2 separate regions of the Homo sapiens genome follow, and region 1 is linked to region 2. The links are contacts of gene promoters, found by promoter capture Hi-C in human tissues and cell types (Jung and others, 2019). All regions are on one chromosome and are shown on one strand. The core of a region is centred on a gene start or on the middle of the fragment in contact, and the rest is flanking DNA. Distances in the headings are between cores, read along the strand shown. Region 1 overlaps SMAGP (small cell adhesion glycoprotein). Region 2 holds the start of GPD1 (glycerol-3-phosphate dehydrogenase 1).

What was found. Contacts are between HindIII fragments. The study calls those that stand out against the background at their distance.
Region 1: a fragment that was not itself captured here is called in contact with the fragment with the promoter of GPD1 in region 2 in 1 of the 25 tissues and cell types used here (spleen).

The regions. Positions count from the first base shown.
Region 1 is chr12:51,249,717-51,254,189 of GRCh38, forward strand. All of the region lies in intron 2 of SMAGP (small cell adhesion glycoprotein), which reads right to left. Among named protein-coding and RNA genes, the nearest start is that of DAZAP2, 13 kb to the left of the region's middle. The HindIII fragment of the contact is 4,561 bases long and covers 1-3,577 here.
Region 2 is chr12:50,102,049-50,107,232 of GRCh38, forward strand. It overlaps GPD1 (glycerol-3-phosphate dehydrogenase 1), which reads left to right and starts at 1,960. Exons shown (of 8, transcript NM_005276.4): 1 at 1,960-2,043; 2 at 2,526-2,703; 3 at 3,500-3,640; 4 at 4,240-4,378; 5 at 4,757-4,869. The coding sequence starts at 2,003. RefSeq lists an enhancer at 970-1,019. The HindIII fragment of the contact is 8,009 bases long and covers 1-5,184 here.

The DNA.
Region 1 (4,473 bases), core at 47-2,546, 1.1 Mb after region 2:
AGCGATTCTTCTGCCTCAGCCTCCTGAGTAGCTGGGATTACAGGTGTGTGCCACCATGCCCAGTTAATTTTTGTATTTTCAGTAGAGACAGGGTTTCACCATGTTGGCCAGGCTGGTCTCGAACTCCTGGCCTCGAGTGATCCACCTGCCTCGGCCTCCCAAAGTGCTGGGATTACAGGTGTGAGCCACTGTGCCTCGCCTATACATATGGATTCATTCATCCATTCTCATCTGTTACCCACAGGAACTATATTAACCAACATTGCAGTTCTATTATGAAGATTAAATGAGAGAACATGTAAACATCATATAGTAGCTACTACTTAAATATTATTTAAGGTGACTTTGTTAATATGCTTAGTGATTAAAAGGGCCAGGCATGGTGGCTCATGCCTGTAATCCCAGCACTTTGGGAGACCAAGGTGGGAAGATCGCTTGAGGCCAGGAGTTTGAGACCAGCCTGGGCAACACAGTAAGACTCTGTCTACAAAAAAAAAAAAAAAAAAAATGTAAAAATTAGCCAGGTGTGGTAATATGCGCCTGTAGTCCCAGATACTCATGAGGCTGAAGTGGGAAGATTGCTTGAGCCCAGGGGGTTAAGCCTGCAATGAGCCAGCACTGCATTACTGAATTGTTGGGCAACAGAGTAATGAGACCCTGTCTCAAAAAAATAAATTAATTAAAGGGAGAGTTGCTCTGGGTTTGAATCCTGCCTAAGCATATTACTAGGTGACCTTGAGGAAGTTACTAAACCTCTCTGAACCTGGTTGTTGTTGTTGTTGTGTTTTTTTTTTGTTTTTTTTTTGTTGTTGTTGTTGAGACAAGGATCTCACTATGTTGCTCAGGCTGGAGTGCAATGGTGCAATCTTGGCTCACTGCGGCCTCAACCTCCTGACCTCAAGCAATCTTCCTGCCTTGGCCTCCCAAAATGCTGGGATTATAAGCGTGTGCCACCACACCTGGCAGTACCTCAGTTTCTTGATTTGTGAAATGGGAGTGTGGTGTACAGCTTCTAAGATGGCTCACAATGATTTCTGCCTCCTGGTATTGACATCTTTGAGCATGCCTCTCCTCTGGTATATGGGTTGAACCTGGTGACTTGCTTTTAACAGATGATGGCAAAAATGATGGCATGTAACTTCTGAGATTAGGTTATACAACACTGTGACTCCCATCAAAGGGAAGCCCTGAAGTTTATCTACCTGGTCATGACTTCACACATTTCACCATGCACTTTCCTCCCCAAATCGCCCAGGGCTGCAATCCATCTTCCTACCATGGATCTAGAGTTCTATACAGTTGTTCCTAGTTTTGCTTTCTTTAAACATTTTGAGAATTTAGGATGTACAAAGCATTGAGAAGATTAATGTATATCAGAAGCTTGAAGATGAGTAATTTGTGTTCAATCATCAACAGTAACTTACTTTGTACATTAGGTTTAGTGTGGTAGCTCACGCCTGTAATCCCAACACTTTGGGAGGCGGAGGCAGGAGGATTGCTTGAGGCCAGGAGTTTGAGACTAATCTGGACAATATAGCAAGACACCATCTCTATTTGTTTTTTAAAAATAATATATGGAGGAGGCTGGGTGCAGTGGCTCACGCCTGTAATTCCAGCACCTTGGGAGGCCAAGGCAGGTGGATCGCTTGAGCCCAGGAGTTGGAGACCAGCCTGGGCAACATAGCCAGACTCCCATCTCTACAAAAAAAAAAAAAAAAAAAAAGTTAGCCAGACATGGTGGCACACACCTGTAGTCCCAGCTACTCGGTAAACTTGAGGTGAGAGGATCACTGGAGCCCAGGAGGTCCAGGCTGCAGTGAGCTGTGATTGTGCCACTGTACTCTAGTCTGGGTGACAGAGTGAGACCCTGTTTCAGAAAAAAAAAAAAAAAGAATAAAGGTGGGAGGAAACCAGATGATCACAATTAAATACAGACAGTTGTGCTACAAAGTGCTTCTTTAACATGAACTGGCTCACTGGTGATAGGTAACTTAAGGGAACGATGTCAGTGTAATGCAGAAGTCATGTTGGTTTATATGTGACTTCTTTATTTTTAGTTTATTTTCAGTTATCTATTCTTTAATTTTTTTAAATTGAGCAGCCCCTAGAACCAAAAGAGGTTCAGAGGACTCCCCACCCTCTTTAGCTTTAATGTTTAACATGATCAGAAGCAAGCTTTCTCACAACTAGAGAATATTTTAGCCATACAGGAAGACCTTAAGAAAAAAATTCTACAGAATGCCTTGCTGCGATGCAGCTATTGGTCAGTTTCCACTTATATGAAGCCATCTGGTGAAGCAGAAAGTGCAGATGAAGAAAGGTGCAAAGAAATTTACCTCAATATTTAAACGATGACAAGAAGGCAGACTCTACATCAGATTTTTTTTTTTTTTTCCAGACAGAGTCTCGCTCTGTCACCCAGGCTGGAGTGCAGTGGCGCGATGTTGGCTCACTGCAACCTCTGTCTCCCAGGTTCTAGCGATTCTCCTGCCTCAGCCTCCCGAGTAGCTGGGACTACAGGCGCATGTCACCACGCCCGGCTAATTTTTTGTATTTTTTAGTAGAGACGGGGTTTCACCATATTAGCCAGGATGGTCTTGATCTCCTGACCTCGTGATCTGCCCGCCTCGGCCTCCCAAAGTGCTGGGATTACAGGTATGAGCCACTGTGCCCGGCCTATTATTATTATTTTTGAGGCCAAGTCTCACTGTGTCACCCAGGCTGGAGTGCAGTGGCTTCATCTCGGCTCACTGCAACCTCCGCCCCCTGGGTTCAAGCAATTCTCCTGCCTCAGCCTCCCAAGTAGCTGGAATTACAGGCATGTGCCACCACACCCGGCTAATTTTTGTATTTTTTAGTAGAGACAGTTTTGCCATGTTGGCCAGGCTGGTCTCAGACTCCTGACCTCAGGTGATCCGCCCTCCTCAGCCTCCCAAAGTGTTGGGATTACAGGCGTGAGCCACATCGCCCCCCGAAGGACAATTTAAAAAGCATTATATTTGCAACAAGAACAAAGAAAAAGCTAGGCTTCTTTGGGCCTGAGGGGTCAGGTTGGAGGTAACAGAGAAAGCAGAATTCCCTCAGGCCTTTTCACCTCTGTTTCCTATCAAAGAGAATCATTTTTTTGCACTAAGGAGCAGTGGAGCCTTTGGGGACATGGGGGAAGTGAGCTCAAGAGAAGCAAAGAAACCCAGCAAGCACCAGACTAATCTAAAAGGGACCAGATATGACAGCCAAAGGCACTGCAAGAACTTGTAAATGGGATTTCTGTTGGTGACATAGGAGCTTCTGAGAAAGAGAAAGGGGTCGGGAACCTGAAGGGGCCATGGAAGGAAGGTGGAGTCCATAAAGCAATGGTGAGCTTGATGTGACTCCCCAGCAAAGTTCTAGAACACACTATTACGGCCTGTTTGGGGGGCTTTGAACTCGAAACAGCAAGCATTAGAAGTCAGAATGGGACTACTGAGAGCAAGCTGGGTCAGATAAGCTGCACAGCCTTCTTAGACTGAGATTCCAGGTTCCTAGACAGGGAAATTAAACAGTTAGTTCAACAAGAATTTACTGAGTGTGTACTCTGTGCCAGGCTCTGGGCTTCTATCAGTGAACAACACAGGCAAAAACCCTTACCTTTAAAGTTCCTGCCAGGATTAAACAGAATTACCCAGCAATCTCATTGCTGGGTGGGTATGATCCCGCAATCCCACTTCTAGGTATATACCCAAAAGAAATGAATGGACTTCAACTGATACTTGTATATCATGTTCATAGGAGCATTATGCAATAGCTAAATAAAAGGTGAAATAACCCAAATGTCCAACAGTAGATAAATGGATAAACAAAATGTGGTATATACATACCCTTAAAGAGGAAGGAAATTCTAAAAAAAAACAAAAAACAAAAAAGGAAGGAATTCAGACATATACTACAACATGGATGAACCTTGAGGACATGACACTAAGTGAAATAAGCCAGGCACAAAAGGACAAACATTCCAGCCTGGCCAACGTGGTAAAACCCCGTCTCTACTAAAAATACAAAAATTAGCCGGACGTGGTGGCAGGTGCCTGTAATCCCAGCTACTTGGGAGGCCAAGGCAGGAGAATCACTTGAACCCGGGAGGTAGAGGTTGCAGTGAGCCAAGATCATGCCACTGCACTCCAGCCCAGGCGAAAGAGCGAGACTCTGTCTCAAACAAAAAAAAAGAGGACAAACATTGTATGATTCCACTTATATGATGTGCTTAGAGCAATCAAATTCATAAGACAGAAAGTACTACAGGAGATTGTAAGGGGCTGGAGAAGGGGAAAATGGGGAGTTAATGTTTAATGAGTATAGAGTTTTAGTTTGGGAGGATGAAAAAGTTCTGGAGATGCATAGTGGTGTTGGTGAAGGTATAACAACATGAATGTACTTAATACTGCTGGACTGTACACTTGAAAATGGTTAAAATGGTCAATTTTATGTTATGTATAA
Region 2 (5,184 bases), core at 710-3,209:
CTAGGAGTGGAGAAAATTGATGTCAAGGACATTGAAATGGCATCTGTTTTTACCCAGGCTAATTACATGTGTAATGAATGGCTGATGAACCATTATTAATTTCAAGCAAATCTACAGTTTGCTCTTGGGAAAAGAGCTCTAGTGATACAGATAACTTCCTGTGATGAGCCGATTCTGAATCTCTGCACCCTCTTTATTCCCATGTAAATGAGCACATTCTTAGTCTCCACACTATCTAAAATGATTGTAGGGGCAAAATGAGAGAGGGAAGCATTTAGGCAAAAACAAGGGGGTTATTTTATGCATAAACATCCATTCTTTGGGGCTCCCATCATTTGTGCCAGGGACAGAAGCATCCTTTCTCTTCCATCACCCGTAATCAGTGCTCCCAGCTGGCAGCCTGGCACTGGAGCCTTCATCTCAGTGCCAGTGCAATAAAGGAGTGGTCTGTGGGAGGCTGTTTCTGTATTAGGTATAACATTGTGCTAAGAAAAACAGCCAACTACTGATTTCATGTCCGTTTCCCTATGGGAAATTACTGGCCATGGAAGGAGAATATGGTTGGTTTTTCCTGGGCAGTCCCCGGAACTTAGAAAGCCATTTCTCCCCAGTCTTGACCTCCTGCCTGCTTACTCCTACCCATGGGTTGCACACAGACTCCCCTGTAGCCCAGTGCTTGTTACCAGTTGCTGGCCAGCAACAGCCCAGGGGGATGGCAACACCCACCTAGCCGTCTGCCAAGCCAGGAGGTCAGCACATGAGCACACAGTGGTGTCTGCCCTCTAGGCCAAGGTGCACAGTGTTAGGAGCCTCTTGCTCCACTCTCCAGATCAGCCTGGAAACCAGAGCTTCCCTCGTCTTAGACAAACAGATGGCCGTGGGCGATGCAGAGCCCTGAACTGCTGAGGGTGCTCCTTCCATTCTCGCCCTTCCCCAAAAAACATACACCAAACTTACCCCCAATCACAGCATCTGAGACCACAAAGCCCCACGGACACAGCTGCCCCGGGTACTGCCTGCCTTCCCCTTTTCTGGCCTCTGCAAACTAGCCATTCACCTGATGAAGCCCCTGGGGCAGTACCTTGGAAACCCCTGAGAGGAGGAGTTGAAGGAGGCTCAAAGCCTTTCAAGGACAGTGTGCACTCTGCCTGCCTCCTATTCTCTCCTGTCCTCTTAAGCCCAGAGTCTACAACAAAATTGTGTACCGCAATTCTCAGAGCTCTCTAACTTTAACCTTTCCCACCTTCCCTAGAACACATTTTTGGGTGGGGATCATCTGAGAGGCCCATGGATGAGTCCCCAAGATGACCTCTGTGGGTGACCAAGACAATCTTGTCTTTTGAGGCACCTGGAGTCTCTCATCCTTTTTTGAGCTGGGCTGTCCTCAAAGCAGGCCCTTACCTCTTATGTGGCCTCATCTTTAGAGGTGGGAAGTGGGCCCACATCCCCCACCCCAGCCCTGCAGTGGAGCTAGCGTGGGCCTGCTGGAGGACAGAACTGTGGAACAGGGTCCTGTGAGGATATGTGGCAGGGTTGGCGGGGGGATAGGGGGTCATGGAGGAGCCTACCTCTGAAAAGCATTCCCCTAGCTGCTACTGAAGCTAAATACAATTTATTTCATGCTGGGGGACAGAAAGGAGCAAGGGAGAGCAGTCACCTGCTCCTTATCTGGGCTATTTTCTTAGCAGACCTCAAAATGAGACCATGGTGGGAAGCTGGGCTGGGGCCAAGGGAAGAAGCTTGCCAGCACTGTCAGCCGATGAGCCCAGGAGAAAAAGCTGGGCCTAGTCTCTGCCCCATTCCTGTTCCACACCTGTCTGTACCCCTGTCTCTCCTTTCCCTGGCTCTGCCAGACTCTCTATCTCCCTGGGCGCCAGCCTCCCCACCCACCCCTGGAGGGCGGGGCTTGGCTGCACCCACGTGTGGTGGAGTTAAATGCTCCTAGCCGGCAGAGGAGCTAGGGAGTGTGGCACTGAGCCGGCTCAGGCAGAGACGCGGCACCATGGCTAGCAAGAAAGTCTGCATTGTAGGCTCCGGGAACTGGTAAGCAGCTCTGTCAAGTGATATGGGGGAAGGGTAGGCCCCCCAAGACAGAGGTGGGTAGGAGGCAGAATGGGTGGGAAAGGCCCTCAGGTTCCTGTTCAGCCCCTGCTGCTATCTTCTATCATAGCAGCACAGGACAGACGGTGCCCGGCCCTCTCCTGACCCCCGCCCTCCTGGGCAGCTGCACCTGTTCACCATGGGAAGGCGTCTCCAGAGCTCTCTATGTGAAGAGCCGCTTGAGTTTGGGGGTGGGAAGATGAGAAGTGGGGCTCCCTTCTCTAGTAGCAAAGGGTGAGGAGACTGAGTCTCCTTTCTACTGCCAGGTCACTGGGGACTATTTGTCATGGGAGTGGAGGTGATAAGGAAGGTAGGTAGGAGTGAACAGCCTGGGGGGCTGCTGTGAGATCCTGAGGTGGGGCGCTGCCCCAACTCCTGCCACTGTTCCCTCCTCCTGTACTTTCCTGTGCTCCCCCTCCCACCAGGGGCTCAGCCATCGCCAAGATCGTGGGTGGCAATGCAGCCCAGCTGGCACAGTTTGACCCACGGGTGACCATGTGGGTATTTGAGGAAGACATTGGAGGCAAAAAGCTGACTGAGATCATCAACACGCAGCATGAGAATGTCAAATACCTGCCAGGGCACAAGTTGCCCCCAAATGTGGTGAGCCCCAACACCCTGCGAAGAACAGGGAGAGGAAGGGAGGGCCAGGAGTTGGAGCCGACCTTACTCAACAGGTGCCTCCTGCTGAGAGGGCCGCTTCAGGTGCAGCAGGACTTGGGAAGGTCTCAGGAGGGCTGCTCTGGGCCCTTTCCTGAGGACTGAGGAGAACCTATGCTTTCCCCTCACAGGCTCCCAGGCGGGTGGGTGGGGAAGGGATGGGAGAACAAGTTGGTCTCCATGGCAGCCAAAGACTGGGCTCCCAGACTTGGGGTCCAGTAGTGCCTGCCTCCGGCACTAATCCTGTTACTCATTCACTGAGTGAGTAGCCGACTTGGAGGCTGCTCCTTGGACTTACGGTCTTTGGTCAAATCCACGTGGCTCTCCCCACCTGGAAAGGGGAAGCAGGGAAGAGAGCAGAAAGGCTGGGGCTCCCCCTTCCCAGCTGGGGTTCCTGAGGAGCTGGGTGATGAAATCTTATTTGAGCTCTTTCTTTTGCCAAGCCCAGGCTGCTTTTGGCCTCCCGCACTGTCCCACAGCCAAGGGATAGGAGAGTGCTGGGATGAGGTTTCCAGGAGTCCTCAAGAGCCCAGGACAGCTGGAGGGAGACAGAGTGGTAGCTGGGGGGAGGGAGTAGAGTGTCTTATTCCTCCAAGTTCAGTCCTTCTAGATTCAGTCCCAAACAAGCCTTCCTGCTCCCCTACCAGCCTCACTCTTTGGCTCCCAGATCTCCTGAATAGGGTTCCACAGGGGCTAGGGGAGGTCTGCCAGGCCCGCGAGCACTTGGTCACCCCCACAGGTGGCTGTCCCAGATGTGGTCCAGGCTGCAGAGGATGCTGACATCCTGATCTTTGTGGTGCCCCATCAGTTCATCGGCAAGATCTGTGACCAGCTCAAGGGCCATCTGAAGGCAAACGCCACTGGCATATCTCTTATTAAGGTGCCAGGGACACCTTCATGTGGATGGGGGAGGGTGCGGCTCACTGTTGTGGGGTTCAGGGTGGGTGAAGCAAGGAGAACAGAAAATGGCAGACGCAGGCCAAGAGTTTGCTGGAGAAAAGAGAGGCAGTTGGCTCTGGAGAGGCTTAGGAAAGCAGTGAGGTGCTGGGGGTCACTGGAAGGGAGGCTGAAGGGAGGAGACGAGATTGGTTTGGAGGTCCTCTCGGGGAGTTTCGGAGGTATAAAGGAATGCCTGGGAGATATGAGAAGCGGGCTGGTTTGAGAAGTGTGAAGAGTAGCTGGTTTGGAGCAGTGACTGGTCACTGAATGGCAGTTTGTTGGGGCAGTCAGGCGGGGTTGCCTAGGGATGTGGAGGGGACCCGTTGCCTTGGAGAAGTAGACTGGTTGAGGGTATGTGGCAGGACAGTTGGTCACATGCTGTCTGGCCTCCTCACAGCAAACTTGAGCTGGGTTGGAATGGGGCAGGACCTGTCGGGAGGGACACAGATGAGCAATGGATTTGGAAGGGACAGAATTTCTGGGCGGAAGCCCGCAGGTGGGCCCAAAGGGCACCTGGCCTGAGCTCCATCCTGTGCTCAGGGGGTAGACGAGGGCCCCAATGGGCTGAAGCTCATCTCGGAAGTGATTGGGGAGCGCCTCGGCATCCCCATGAGTGTGCTGATGGGGGCCAACATTGCCAGCGAGGTGGCTGATGAGAAGTTCTGTGAGACAACCATTGGTGAGAGCCCCCTGGCACCTGCATACACAGTGCATCTAGTTGCATCCCCTCCCCAAACTGCCCCAACCCCACTTAGCCATCTCTTTCCCATAAGGCAGAGAAAGGAAAATACAAGCATCAGAGGTGAAGGAGGCTGGGACACCCCCAGGGAAGGGGCTTCAGGGCCTGCTTAGGGAAACACAGTGATGAGCCCTCCCTCAGAGTTGGTGCAGTGGCACACCTGTGGTCCCAGCTACTTAAGAGGCTGAGGTGGGAGGATCGCTTAAGCCCAGGAGTTTGAGTCCAGCCTGGGCAACAGAGAGAGACTCCCATCTCTATAAAATAAATATTTTTTAAAAAGAGTCCTTCCCTCAAAGCCTTGCCCCCTCCTCACTTTAGGCTGCAAGGACCCGGCCCAGGGACAACTCCTGAAAGAGCTGATGCAGACACCAAACTTCCGTATCACAGTGGTGCAAGAGGTGGACACAGTAGAGATCTGTGGAGCCTTAAAGGTGAGAGGGGCACAGAGGCAGCTATGGGGTGAGGAGAAGGCCCCAAAGGAGGTCTGGCTGAGCTCTGCAAGGCTGCAGGTACTCCAGGCTCTCACTATTGAGCAGTGGTTCCCCTTTCCTACCATGTCCCATGCATATAGGAGGAGCTGCAGAAGCAAGGCCAGGGCCATTCAGGCCGGCTGATTATTCATCATCAGACCGTGGACCCCCTTGCTCCTGTCCCATTTTAGCCCCGTGTGGGACTCCCCACCCTCTGGCTCCAGGAGGTGGTCCAGGGGGACAAGGAGATGCCCAGGCTAATGGGAGACAAAACAT